Linked DNA regions of Homo sapiens: all the other regions are linked to region 3. The links are contacts of gene promoters, found by promoter capture Hi-C in blood cells and fetal thymus (Javierre and others, 2016). All regions are on one chromosome and are shown on one strand. The core of a region is centred on a gene start or on the middle of the fragment in contact, and the rest is flanking DNA. Distances in the headings are between cores, read along the strand shown. Region 1 has its middle 83 kb from the start of RGS1. Region 2 has its middle 130 kb from the start of RGS21. Region 3 holds the start of RGS13 (regulator of G protein signaling 13). Region 4 has its middle 110 kb from the start of RGS1.

Region 1 (3,322 bases), core at 618-3,117, 140 kb before region 3:
GAAAGTTTTTCTGATTTTTGAATTTAAAGAAATACTTTCAAATAAAGACTATAACTATAAATTTGCTTTTATTTTGAAACCATAGAATGATAAAATAAAAATTATTAGGATGGTTACTTATGGCAAAAGACACAGGGACAGAAGATGGATGTCTCTGAATATGTGTGTGTGTGTGTGTGTGTGTGTGTGTGTGTGTGTATGTGTATTTACATAGACATGTATACATATTTGTATACATATGTACACATACACACACACTTTGGAACCCTGTAAATGCTTTATGCTCTATCTATGTAATCAAAAACTGTGATTATTTCAAAAATAAAAGCTAAGCAGTTACTCAAAATTTTTTGAAGTAAAGGGATCTAACTGCATATCAAATTGTTGACAAAACCACACAGGGAAAAATTATTTCGAGTGACTTTAAAACGCAGGTTTTTTTTAGTATCACTAGTGAGATATATCCCAAGTATGAAAATCTCCACAAAGAAATCACAAGCTTTATTCGGCAGCATTATTGTTAATGATAATAATGTTTGTATTGTTATTTTGAAATTACTATATGTATATGGTATAAGATAAATAAGTATGTACATGTAATTAGGAACCAAGAGTTTCAATTTAAGAAAATTTGGGGAGAAAAGGTATAAAAGCAAAATAATAGAGGTATAGAATTATCAAGGTAGAACAACATAAATTAAGACATGTAATTATATATTTAAATATAAATATTAACATGAACACATGATTTTTCCTTTTTCTAAAATATATAGACCTTGAATTTATTTTTAAAATACATAACTTGAATTTATTTTTTTAGATACATATTACATAACTACCTCTTCACTGAAAAGCTACAGAAGCAGTGGCAAACCAGTAGTAATGACCACCCCTGGGGCCCAGATTCAGGTCTCTAAACTTTAATTCTGTCCTCAGGGAACTGATTGTTTCCAGGACTGGCTGGACAATATGTTGAATAAGTCTGGAACATCTTGTTGTGCTGAAAAGCAAGAAAGCAATCAAGGATTACAGGGAACATGTCAAAGAGACAGAGAACCCAATTAGAGCAGCTCCCACTGGCGAAACTGTGGAACAGTTGGAGCAACAATAAAAATGACTGGAAAGGTCATATATATCCATAAGTTACTAATTATACAAAAACAAAACACACACGCACATACACACTCATTGGTCACCTTTGATAATTACTAGAAAATTTCAAATACTGATTTTAAAAAGAGAAAGCATTATGGATTGTTTGTTCTGTCTTTCCTGTGTGTAGTGTATTTCATGCTGTTTTCCCAAGGTAATTGTTCAGTATAAAATCCTGTTTTCTCAACTGAAGATGACTCAGAAATCTACCAGAGCACTGAACTCTCTGTGGGATCAGCTGAAGCCATTGCTGAAATTGTATCACAGGTCAATTCCTCCCTCTGCCCACTCCTGTTCCCAAGGGCACTCCCTAGTCAGTATCCTGGATGCTAACCTCCATGACAGTTTGCTTCCCAAGAAATCTAACCTGTTGCAAGCAGTTATTGTCATGTGTGGTTTAAGAAAGCAAAACCTAAAATAAGGTTTTAGAGCTGAATTAACCTGCTCCAGAGCTGGCAATGAGGAGCCTACCGCTGATGGCAGGTGGAGCACAAATAGCCTCTGGCACAAGATACCAATGCAAATGGTAATATTTTCACTAGGTTGGTGCACTGCTGAAGAGAAATGCATTAGCTAGTGCAATGTGTCAAATTGTGAAACATGGGGGAGTAGTAATTATAAGGAGACTTGAGTGAGCTCAAGTAACACTCTGGGAAGAAAGATGAAAACTAAGAGTGATTAATTTACAAATAAAAGTTAAGTGTAAAAGTCATAGGTCACCTTGGTCAGAGAGAGAGAGAGACTGGAGGAAGAGGAGTCATGTCTTTTCTCCTAAGGTGGGAAGGCAGACTGTACAGAAAAAGCTGATGACGAGGCCTATAAAAGTAGCAAAACTCCAAAAAAGGTTAAACTTCCAACCAAGGCAGGTCTGCAACACCAACATCAGGTTTCTGTCTGGGAAAAAAGTATGATCTTGACACATGAGGTAGGGAGAGCTAGGTTGGTGTATCTGAACATCTTGAACTCTCTTCCAAAAAATATTGATCCCAAAAGCAATGCTTACTAAATGCCCTCCACTTATCTCCATCTCAATGTCTGCCTTTCAGGAAAATCAATCTGCCATAGTAACCAAATACCTAATGAAAATCTTCTCCATGGAAGAATTCTAGCTAATAAATGTAAAAAGATTATAGAATTAGTAAATCACCATTGGCAAACTGTAATGAAATTATCTGGCCTCTCATCACTATATAACAAGCAACACATTAACCTACTGATCAATCTTAACATCACTAAAAGTGAAACTCAATAATATGCCCCCTACATGCCCCTGATGCAATGAAAGATGCTATGTATAGCACCACCTATAAAGTATTTTTTCCAAAGTTGAATCTGAATCTAATCAAGTCTATCAATTGTCAACTTACAGGAAATATGGGTGATAGAGATACAACCACCATACCTAGAGGTAGAAAAATAATAAACTAGTATCTTCAACAAATATATGACATTATTTTAAAAAGCCATTTAGAGACATATTAACTAAATACAATATGTGGTCTGTGTTTGGATCTTGATTCAAAAAACTGTAAAAAGACATGTTTTTAGATAAAAGAAGAAAATAGAACATTGGGCCACTTATTGGATGATGTGACATTATTTGTAAAATGTTGTTATTCGTGATGAAATACTGCTAAGCTAAGCCTTTTTTATAATTATCTATTAAAGATGTATATTGTAATATTTATATGTGAAATTATGCAATATCTGTTATGTGGTTTATAATAATCTAGAGAAAACTCATATATAAGATAGGGTATAGACAAATAAGAATGGGAAAATGTTGATAATTGTTGAGCTGGGTGATGGGTAGATAGGAATTCATTATATTGTCAACTTTAGTACACATTTAAAATGTTCCAAAATAAGTTTCTAATAATTATTTACATCTTTAATGTTACTCTACATATAATACCAAATCAAAAGATTGAGTTAAGAGTTTATGAGGTAATTAAGTTTAAGAAATATTAGAATTTTAGGAAAATCTCTTCAGGGCATTAGCCTATGCAAAGAATTTATGACAAAGACCCCAAAAACAAATGCAAGAAAAACAAAAATAGATACATGGGACTTAACTAAACTAAAAAGCTTCTGGATAGCAAAAGAAATAACCAACAAAATAAATAGACTACCTATAGAGCGGGGGAAAATATTTGCAAATTATGTCCCT
Region 2 (3,358 bases), core at 555-3,054, 190 kb before region 3:
CTAAGATAAAGTTACAACACATATACATAAAAAATTGCCCAAACAAGAAAACGTTCTGTCCCTCCTAACCTCAAAGGGCTGAAACATCTTCACAATGTTGCCATAAGTTACCCAAAGATAAGGGGAAGGCACCCGGCTAGAACTGGGCACCATTGTCTCACCTTATAAGAAACACGAAACTACATGTTCCAGTCATCTCAGTGGACAAACTCTTCTAGCTCATTCCAGGAAAGGGTGTCAGGTTACACTGAAGATCAATAACTCAAATGTGTGATCACGAGATAGAACTAGTTCAGTCACCAAAACATTCATATTCATTCAACGAATAATGACTGAGAGCCAGGTATGTAAGTCACTGTCCCAGGTGATGAATTCGGAGTTCTTATTAAATTCAGAGCCTATTTCTCAGACTACAAATGCAAAAGCATCCATAAGTAGGCCGGGTGCGGTGGCTCATGCCTGTAATTCCAGCACTTTGGGAGGCCGAGGCAGGAGAATCACAAGGTCAGGAGTTCAAGACCAGCCTGACCAACATGGTGAAACCCCGTCTCTACTAAAAATATAAAAATTAGCCGGGCCCAGTGGCACACACCTGTAATCCCAGCTACTCAGGAGACAGAGGCAGGAGAATCATTTGAATCTGGGAGGTGGAGGTTACAGTGAGCAGAGATTGCACCACTGCACTCTAGCCTGGGCAACAGAGCAAGACTGCATCTCAAATATATATATATCCGTAAGTATACACTATAATTATATAGGACCCTTTACAGTAATAGCAAAATGTTTTTGATCACTTAGTATATGCCAAGCACTATTTACACAGATTGCATTTTACAAAGATGACCACAAAAATATCTTCCACCCATAGGTCCTCCTGCAATGTGACCTTGCCCATTCTTAAATGAAGTCTAGTTCCCATTTCCTTGGCATCTAGGCTGGATGTAGTGAACAGCTGGTAACTAAAAGAACATAGGGAAAGTGACTTCCTGTGAAATCTGAGGCTAGGTCAGAAAAGCCACACATCTTCTACCTCGTTGTTTGGAATGCTTGCTTTCCACATACCCTCTCTGAAGATACTCCCTCTTGGAGCCCAGTCACCATGCTGCAAGAAGCACACACCAAGTGGAGAGAACACATGTGTAATCCCCAGTGGACACCACAGAGGAGCTTGCTATTCAAGTCATTACAACTACGTGTGTATATAAGGAACTCTGCACATGATTACACCACCAGCATTTGATGCATCCCTGGCTATTTGAGCCTTCTGGGCTGAGGTACCAGATATCCCCAGTTCCTAAACCACAGAATCTATGAGCATAATACAATAGTTTGCATTTTATTCCACTAAATTTTAAAAGTGGTTTATTAAGCAGCAATAAATGACTGGATAAAGTTCGTTAACAGTTTTTATCATATAATTTCATTTAATCTTCTAGAGAAACCTATTAGCCAGTTATTATTCTCTGCATTTTACAAAGGGAACCCAGCCTGAAAATAAAATGATTAATACAGCTAATAAATGATAGAGCCACCATTCAAACACAATTACAGAATTGGAAATTGTAAAGACAGCATTATTATACATCCTTTGGGTAAGAAAATTCTGGTAGGCACTGAATAAACATGAAAAGAATATATAAAATAACCCATATTTTGAGATTTCTGTAAACAATGTAAGAAGTCAAAACACATATATGTGACAACTGCTCTTATCTCAAAATCTTTAATTCAACAACTGGGCAAATGGTGCATTTATTCATTAATCAGACTTTCAATAAGTGGCCCCTGGGTGCCTAACATTGTATTAATCAGAAAACCAGCCAAAGGTATAGGCAGAGAGAACAAAAAGTAGTGTAATGAAAGAGAGGGAACTTTCACAAATCACCCATTTGTCCTCTATTCTGGAAGTAAGGTATCTGAAACACTTTGTTAATAAAAGAAACAGATTTGTATTGTTAAAGGTTTGTGGAAATGATTCATCAAAGTGATACATGACTCATGCACAGAAAACTGGATTTTAAAAGAGTACATAAAGTATGGAAGAAATAACCAAAATATGTATGTATGTTCCTGGATGGGAGAGGAAATAAAGGAGAGATACAGAGAGGAGAGTATGCATGGGATTGTTTCTGCAAAGAATAAATGTGTGGCAGTTAGCATTGTGCATGTTTAGAGCAATGGTTTATATGCATAGATTTAGGATTCTACTATCTATATTTTTTAAATATCTTTCTACAAAATCTACATAGATTGTGAAGGAGAAACAGTTTTTCTCATATTCCTGGGAAGAATAAAGATCACCTTTGAAGACACAGAAAATGTTCATATCTCTTCTAGACTTTCAATGTTAAATAGCTCATTTTTTAAGTCAGAAAACATGAAAAAGTCCATGAAAATGGCAGTTAGAGCTGCAGTGCCCAGATTCTATGCTGCCTCTCAGTTTGTCCAGTGAACATCATGGGAGACTTTGTGTTTGGTCAGAATGCATTATCATTACCTGTCTTTAATCTCAACTCATTTAAGATCTTAATTAGTGGAGATAGAAAGTGTGTGCAGGTGTGAGTGTGTGTATGGGTTATTTTAGCATATTGATATGTAGCAGAAATGAGATCTCAGTCAATTCCATTTTCCAGCTTTACAATGGAAATTTAAACACTGTTTGTTACAATGTTGCCATTGAAAATATTATTCCAATTTTATACAATACAAATTTATTTATCTGAAACATTTTTCCTTCGAAGAAACTAAACTACTCACAAAAGTGTTCATTAACCCACATAACTCCAAGATACTGTGTCTTTATTTAGCTGAGCATTTGGTTCTTGAAAAGTAAGTCTTGTTGGCTCAGATGTTAGCATTGCAGCATTATTTGGAAATAAGCAGAAGGTTTGTAAACAGGGGGTTTAAAAAACTTAAAACTTAAACTTCTAGCTGATGAGGGAGTGCCAACCAGCGTATGGAAAGATCAGTGTTGAGTCTAATTTTATTTGGTTCAGTTTATAGATGCGGTGAGTGAGGAGATGGAGAGTTTTGCAAGTACAAGTTAATGTTAATATGCAAAGTGGTTAAGATAATGTTTATCTCTCTAATCTATTAAAATTATTTTACTCCACACCCCAAGAAATAGGAAGAATAGTAATCATTTCATGATAATATTCACATTCGTGATATTAGCAAGTTAATGATGAATTTATACTCACTGTTATTGATCAAATGTGATTGATAACAATATTAACTAGAAAATGCTCACTTTGGGACCATTATTTAAAGTACATTCTGTGTTCTGTGTGGCTTTTTTTTTTCATTCTCCTCTGTCAGTATGAAATGCCTGACATTCATTCATGAAGCATTTCTTAGA
Region 3 (3,410 bases), core at 911-3,410:
TTAGATTGTTTCTAATTGGCAGCAAACCAGAGGGGACGGGAGACTGGTCAAGTCTCTGAGTCGTCCACTCCAAGATGCGGACAATGAGTGTATGAAGACAGACTGAGAATGCGCTGCAAAGAAGCTTGGAAGAAAATGAAGGCAGAGAGGACAGACCTGAAAGGCTAAGAGGGACAGATCAGCGTCCATGGAAAGCAGGAGCAGAAGCCAGTCTTCTTCCAAACACTGGCACAAACCACTGCCTACTGGATACATTTCACCAGACAATTCACCCCAGTGTCCAAGAGTTTATCTTGCTTCTAGAATATATTGAAAAGAGCCACCCTCTGAACAAATGGCAAACACTATATAGTATAAATAGGATGCACTGAAAATAGTAGGCTTATTTCTTAAGCTGTCATCACGAACATTAACCAGTAATTATATTTCTCCACTTTTTGTAGAAGACATAAATGGCAAATTCTGAATTTATAATTTCTAATACTTCATTTTTCTGCTCTTGTAAAGTTCATTTTGAACTTTCAACATAAAAATATTAAAGATTTTTAATTGTGCACATTTGAACTTGTGTTACTTTGGACTTACATTGGCTGAAATTGAAATATAGTAAAAGTGCTCTAGAGTAAGCAGATCAGTTCATCAGAAGGACAGCCTTTCAATGGAAAGGGCATTCCCAAGCTGCACCAACGAAAGCATAATCCTGTTACCTGCCCTAACCTGACAGCTCTGAATTAGTCTGATCCACCTATGTGCCGTACAAAGCATTATATTGCTATGATTTCATAAACTGAACTTGAACTACACTTTTTCAGAGAAACAAAACCATGTTTAGAAATCTGCCACAAATATCTACACATTGCTCTTGAATTCCTCCAGGAATTTCCACCTACTCGTGCTGTTACTCTTCACTCTATGATTTATTTGTTTTTCAGTCCCTGTCGATACTTAAGTTTTACTCTGTAGGGAGATTCTCATGTTTGACTCCATTAAACAAGCTTTGAAACTGACACTCGCACAGGGTGTTACTTCCAGAATCTTCCTGCCAGCTCCTTGCATCCACACCATGAGAAAGAGCAAACATTCCAAATCCCAAAAAAATGAATTATTTGGGGTGAGGAAAAGTCTTGACTATGACACTGAAGATTTCCTGAAGAGATCCAGCATCCAAAATGTCCTGAGTGGGGAGGAAATCGCACACCTAGCACCCAGAGAAAATGAGTGCTATCCACAAACAACCCAGATCCTCCCAAGCTGAGGCTAACCTGCCCTTCACTTCCTACATTATTGCTACATCTACGCAGCTTCTGACTTTCCAAAGTTTCCTTTCCTTTTCTAGTCCCAAACTTATCTCTCAGGTTTGAGAAATTCAATTTTCTTGGGTTTGAATCTCAAAATTATAAAAGACAAGTAAGGTTAATCTTCTATCTCATTGGGCCCCTAAATATTTTAAGAAACACTCCATCAACCACATTTTGATCTTCTTTACTGCTGTTTTATTCTAGCATTTCTTTACTCCTACCTCTCTGTTTCTCTCTCTCTCTCTCCCCCCAAACCCCCCAACTCCCCCACCCCTCCCCACACACACACACAATTGGAGTAAATCCAGGACAAGGGCATTCACAATCTTACCATATTCTGTATTCATTAGACCTTATCTTAAGCACTGTGTTCAATTCAGATTTTGAAGGCATGTTAACAAACTGTAGAACAACGGAGTCCAGAACTGCTGTAGAGGACCAGTTGAAGGAACTAGAGAGGTATAACTAGAAAAGATACTTTTTTAGATCCTTCAGTTGTTAAAAGTCCCTAGTAATCTATTACAAACAGATTGATTTTAATAGTTCTCAACCATTTGCTAACATGTGTTTGCAGTGATGTCCTATGTGTTTGTACTCAGTTCTCTGTCTTTTTTAAAAGGGAATTTTACTTTAGACTATACATTTTCTAAAACTAGAAAAATTATTTTGGAGAAAAAGATTTGAGTATTACTTTGAAGATTTCATGAAGCTGCTGCTTCCAATCATCTGATCACTTCAGATGGTCTGATAATGTTAGATAAAACCTCTTTATCAGTAATGCACTGGAGTCCTACAGCACTACTTTCCATATTCAACAAAACCTCTCTTTGCATAGATACGTGTGTGTAAAAACAGAACATTCATACTGAGGCCAGAGTGCCATCGAAGGTAATTATAGAGACAGTAAAATCCTTTTACTCTGGGAAAAATAAAATGCTGGGTGTCTCACAAAATTTCAGAACCTGATTTCAAACGGATCATAACAAAGAGGAGATCAAATTTAGCATGGTGGACTGCTCGACAGGATATATTTGTAAGTATGAGATTCTATAAAATAGTTGATAAATACAAGACTATTGGCTTGCTATAAATCACTAGCAGATGCTGATTTCAATGGTAGAACTTCTGGGAGTGTTAACAGAGGTTTTTCTAAGAAAAAAAGACAAACTAACAAACACATATTCTTTTGCCTGGCTTTCTATATTTAAAACAAAACTTAGAGTCACTCCTTATATAAATAAATCTTCTAAGTTGGGCAACAGAGGAAATGCTACAGTTTTAAAGTATATTATTTCATTTTATGTTTTTGTGTATATTTTCATTTTAAATGTTTTTCATTTTATATGTTTAGATAAAAACATATTATAAAATCAGACATAGCTGAATTATTTGTTTCAAAAATCATGCATTACCAAATTATTAGTTCCATCCTTTGTTAACTGTACTGAAGCCAGGTGTGGATTATTATAAGGTTTATCTGAAACATTGTTAATCTTGATTTTGTAGAATTTTTTTATTCTTTTATGTTATGCTTAAGCACAACTATGCACAAATTTCTTGAATTTTTTAAAGGACAAGAAATTTGTGTGCTGTGGTCAACAAAAGCTCACTAAAATATAAATTGCTCCAAATTTTACTAAATTTTATGTAACATGCTATATCATAAAATAAAGAAACATATTTAAATGCAGATATATGTAAACAGACAGAATTGCTTTAAGAAAATTTATTTATTTTCATAATACTTTAAGATTTCATTTAAATAATGGAGGAAACAAATCTAATTCTGGCATACTACTAATACAACTCAATCCATTACCAATGCATTTATAATCACTCTGAGAATTAGATTCTATCGGTGAAATGTATTTCTTTCAAATAATTATCAGGAGAAAACAGTGGAGGCAAAATCATCGTGGAGACCTAAACTTGTTCTAAACACTCTATGTTTCGATTGTAAAAGTACACACTAGTTTTACCAAGAGGGTATTGAAAAACAAAAAAGGAAAGCAAATTAATACACAATATTAAGATAAATATAGATTATTTAAATAAAAAGTAATGGAAAATTACAAATTAAAACAGTAAAGAAATTTTTATAATAAGCCATGA
Region 4 (3,320 bases), core at 688-3,187, 170 kb before region 3:
GATATCAAATCCTACCCCGTGCTTTTATTAACAAAAGAACCATCTACCCCAGAGATAAACTAAGCAATTCCATTAGGAGGAAACAGCCACAATCTTTTTTTTAATAGCATTTTTCTTCATACTCTATTATTACTTAATTAAGAAGCAGCAAAAATACAACAGTGAAAATTTAATGAAATCAGAAATTCCCCCACAGGTTTTAGCAGAATTTCTGGGTATCATAAAAAATACCTAGAAAAGCGTGAGCCCAGATTCTGCTGACGCTCTTGTGACTCAAGCAAAAGCAGGAACCATCTCTTCTAACACAGAGATGCATCTTCAGTAATCTGTTATCCTCTCAAATTCCAGCCAGCTCTTGCTGATGCAGGCAGACATTGCCACCCTAAGCCTGCACTTTCTCACTACATCTGTTATACAATGATTTATCTCTTAAGCTGCCATGGGCTGCAGCTTCTCTCTTAAACACAGCATTATAATGCTTGTATTTGTATTCTTTCACCACTTAGCTTTCAGTTAATGCACATTATCTGAAAACTTTGTTATATAATCCGCAATCTTTCCTCCAATCCCAATTACTGCAATTATCCTTCCATTTTTACCTGAATGATGGAGTAAAAATCCCTGCTCTTCAGCTTCCTCACTTCTTCATCTCCTTTATTTTTCATCTCCATTCTACCTCTGATAGAACGGAGATGAAGGCCGGGCGCGGTGGCTCACGCCTGAAATCTCAGCACTTTGGGAGGCTGAGGCAGGTGGACCACCAGGTCAGGAGATCGAGACCATCCTGGCTAACATGGTGAAACCCCATCTCTACTAAAAATACAAAAAGAAATTAGCCGGGCGTGGTGGCGGGCGCCTGTAGTCCCAGCTACTCGAGAGGCTGAGGCAGGAGAGTGGCGTGAACCCGGGAGGCGGAGCTTGCAGTGAGCTGAGATCGCGCCACTGCACTCCAGCCTGGGCGACAGAGCGAGACTCCGTCTCAAAAAAAAAAAAAAAAAAAAAAAAAAAAAAGAATGGAGATGAAATTAGAACGTGTCACCATCTCAAATTCCTTCACCTCTTAAATCTTAAACTTTAATTTCCTATCACCAACAATTTTCAGCATTCCGTCTTTCCCTCCCTCTCACTAAGACTACATTTTAAGTCTTTTGAGAAAATTCTGGGAAAAGAAGGCTGAGCCAATGTCTCTGACTCTTCTTTTCTCTTCTTAGAAACTATCCAAAAGTAACAAGGGGAAGAACAGAAAGGGGAAGAACAGAAAAGACCACTACACCTTCAGTAAAATTAACAAAAGCTCATAACCCTGAATGGAAATATACAAAGATGAGCTCTGAAGTACAATGAAAATTGGACCAGGGCATTGACTGCTTGTAGGAGATCTGAGCAGAGCGCTGGTACAGTGCTCAGGGCAGGGCTTGCTCTAGTTGCATCACACCTTAAGGGGCAAACAGTGGTCTCCTGCTAGAATAGCAAGATTCCAGTGGGTGGACAGGCATTGGGAGCCTCCCTGATGCCTTTGTATTACAAAGAAGTGGCCGGGAAGGTGGAACTGAAAGAGGAAATATATAGAAAACTGCCTTTGCTGTGAGAGTGGCGGCATAGAAAATAAAATATAAATAGCAAGCAGTCCTGTACCAGCTAGAAAAGAAGAAAAGATCTCAGCACTCCTGTGCGTGTACATTTGGAAAAACACGTATGTGGGTGACACAGTGGACTTCGCAGAGCCCCCCAGGGGACCTTCCTGCTACCCTAAAATATGGAAGAGTATAACAAAACACTTGGAGAAATCTGTCTGAATTTTTAAACCGCAAGCCCACCTTCCTCTCTGATACCTCTCCCAACTCTTCTTCAAAACTAACCGGTTGTCCAAAATGAGCAATACTTAGGAAATAAAGAAAGAAATAGAAGAAGGATGAGGAGAGGAATTCACTAAACAAAAGGCAGATGATCATTGGTCAAAAAATAAATACAACAAAATAAGTGATTGCTATTTGCACACCTGACTCCCTGCACCAGACTGTAAACCACTATTTTTTGTATTCCCAGCACCAAGCAGAGTGACTTGTACCTAATAAATAGTGCATCTAGATTTGATGAATAAATAAGTGATTTTCTGAAGTAGCATTTCAAATATTACTGATCTTCTCGAGAATATTACTTGGGGTGATTGAGTCTTCCTGGATTTTCTGAAATCAAAGAAATATAAGTAATTTTCTGTGCTAAGTTTAATTAAGGCAGGTCCTTTTTTTGTTCAGTATCCTTAAAGTTTTAATGAAAAGTTGTTCCCATGATGGTGATATGTAAGTTCACAGACGTGGTTTTGCATTTTTTTCTTTTTCTTTTTTTTATTATACTTTAAGTTTTAGAGTATATGTACACAACGTGCAGGTTTGTTACATAGGTATACATGTGCCGTGTTGGCTTGCTGCACCCAATAACTCATCATTTACATTAGGTATTTCTCCTATTGCTATCCCTCCCCCAGCCCCCCACCCCACAACAGGCCCCATTGTGTGATGTTCCCCCCTGTGTGTCCAAATGATCTCATTGTTCAATTCCCACCTATGAGTGAGAACATGCGGTGTTTGGCTTTCTATCCTTGTGATAGTTTGCTGAGAATGATGGTTTCCAGCTTCATCCATGTCCCTGCAAAGGACATGAACTCATCCTTTTTAATGGCTGCATAGTATTACATGGTGTATATGTACCACATTTTCTTAATCCAGTCTATCATTGATGGACATTTGGGTTGGTTCCAAGTCTTTGCTATTGTGAATAGTGCCACAATAAACATACGTGTGCATGTGTCTTTATAGCAGCATGATTCATAATCCTTTAGGTATATACCCCGTAGTGGGATTGCTGAGTCAAATGGTGTTTCGAGTTTTAGAGCCTTGAAGAATCACCACGCTGTCTTCCACAATGGTTGAACTAATTTACACTCCCACTAACAATGTCAAAGCATTCCTATTTCTCCACATCCCCTCCAGCATCTGTTGTTTCCTCACATTTTAATGATTGTCATTCTAACTGGCATGAGATGGTATCTCATTGTGGTTCTGATTTGCATTTCTCTGATGACTAGTGATGATGAGCATTTTTTTTTCATGTGTTTGTTGGCTGCATAAATGTCTTCTTTTGAGAAGTGTCTGTTCATATTCTTTGCCATTTTTTGATGGGGTTGTTCGTTTTTTTCTTTTACATTTGTTTGAGTTCTTCGTAGATTCTGGATATTAGCCCTTTGTCAGATGGGTAGATTGCAAAAATTTTCTCCCATTCTGTAGGTTGCCTGTTCACTCTGATGGTAGTTTTTTTGCCAT

Evidence for each region. Contacts are between HindIII fragments. The CHiCAGO score rates a contact against its expected background, and 5 or more counts as called.
Region 1: a contact is called between a fragment that was not itself captured here and the fragment with the promoter of RGS13 in region 3, in 1 of 17 cell types (total CD4 T cells). The highest score is 5.2, in total CD4 T cells.
Region 2: a fragment that was not itself captured here is called in contact with the fragment with the promoter of RGS13 in region 3 in 2 of 17 cell types (total CD4 T cells and naive CD4 T cells); the score reaches 6.9 in total CD4 T cells.
Region 4: a fragment that was not itself captured here is called in contact with the fragment with the promoter of RGS13 in region 3 in 7 of 17 cell types (total CD8 T cells, total CD4 T cells, non-activated CD4 T cells and 4 more); the score reaches 10.9 in total CD8 T cells.

What each region holds. Positions count from the first base shown.
Region 1 is chr1:192,490,970-192,494,291 of GRCh38, forward strand. No RefSeq gene overlaps it. Among named protein-coding and RNA genes, the nearest start is that of RGS1, 83 kb to the right of the region's middle. The HindIII fragment of the contact is 2,741 bases long and covers 498-3,238 here.
Region 2 is chr1:192,441,840-192,445,197 of GRCh38, forward strand. No RefSeq gene overlaps it. Among named protein-coding and RNA genes, the nearest start is that of RGS21, 130 kb to the left of the region's middle. The HindIII fragment of the contact is 7,303 bases long and covers 1-3,358 here.
Region 3 is chr1:192,633,987-192,637,396 of GRCh38, forward strand. RGS13 (regulator of G protein signaling 13) reads left to right here and starts at 2,161. Exons shown (of 7, transcript NM_002927.5): 1 at 2,161-2,331. It overlaps LOC107985241 (a long non-coding RNA gene), which reads left to right. Exons shown (of 2, transcript XR_001738348.2): 2 at 23-564. The HindIII fragment of the contact is 2,675 bases long and covers 994-3,410 here.
Region 4 is chr1:192,462,455-192,465,774 of GRCh38, forward strand. No RefSeq gene overlaps it. Among named protein-coding and RNA genes, the nearest start is that of RGS1, 110 kb to the right of the region's middle. The HindIII fragment of the contact is 4,743 bases long and covers 1-3,320 here.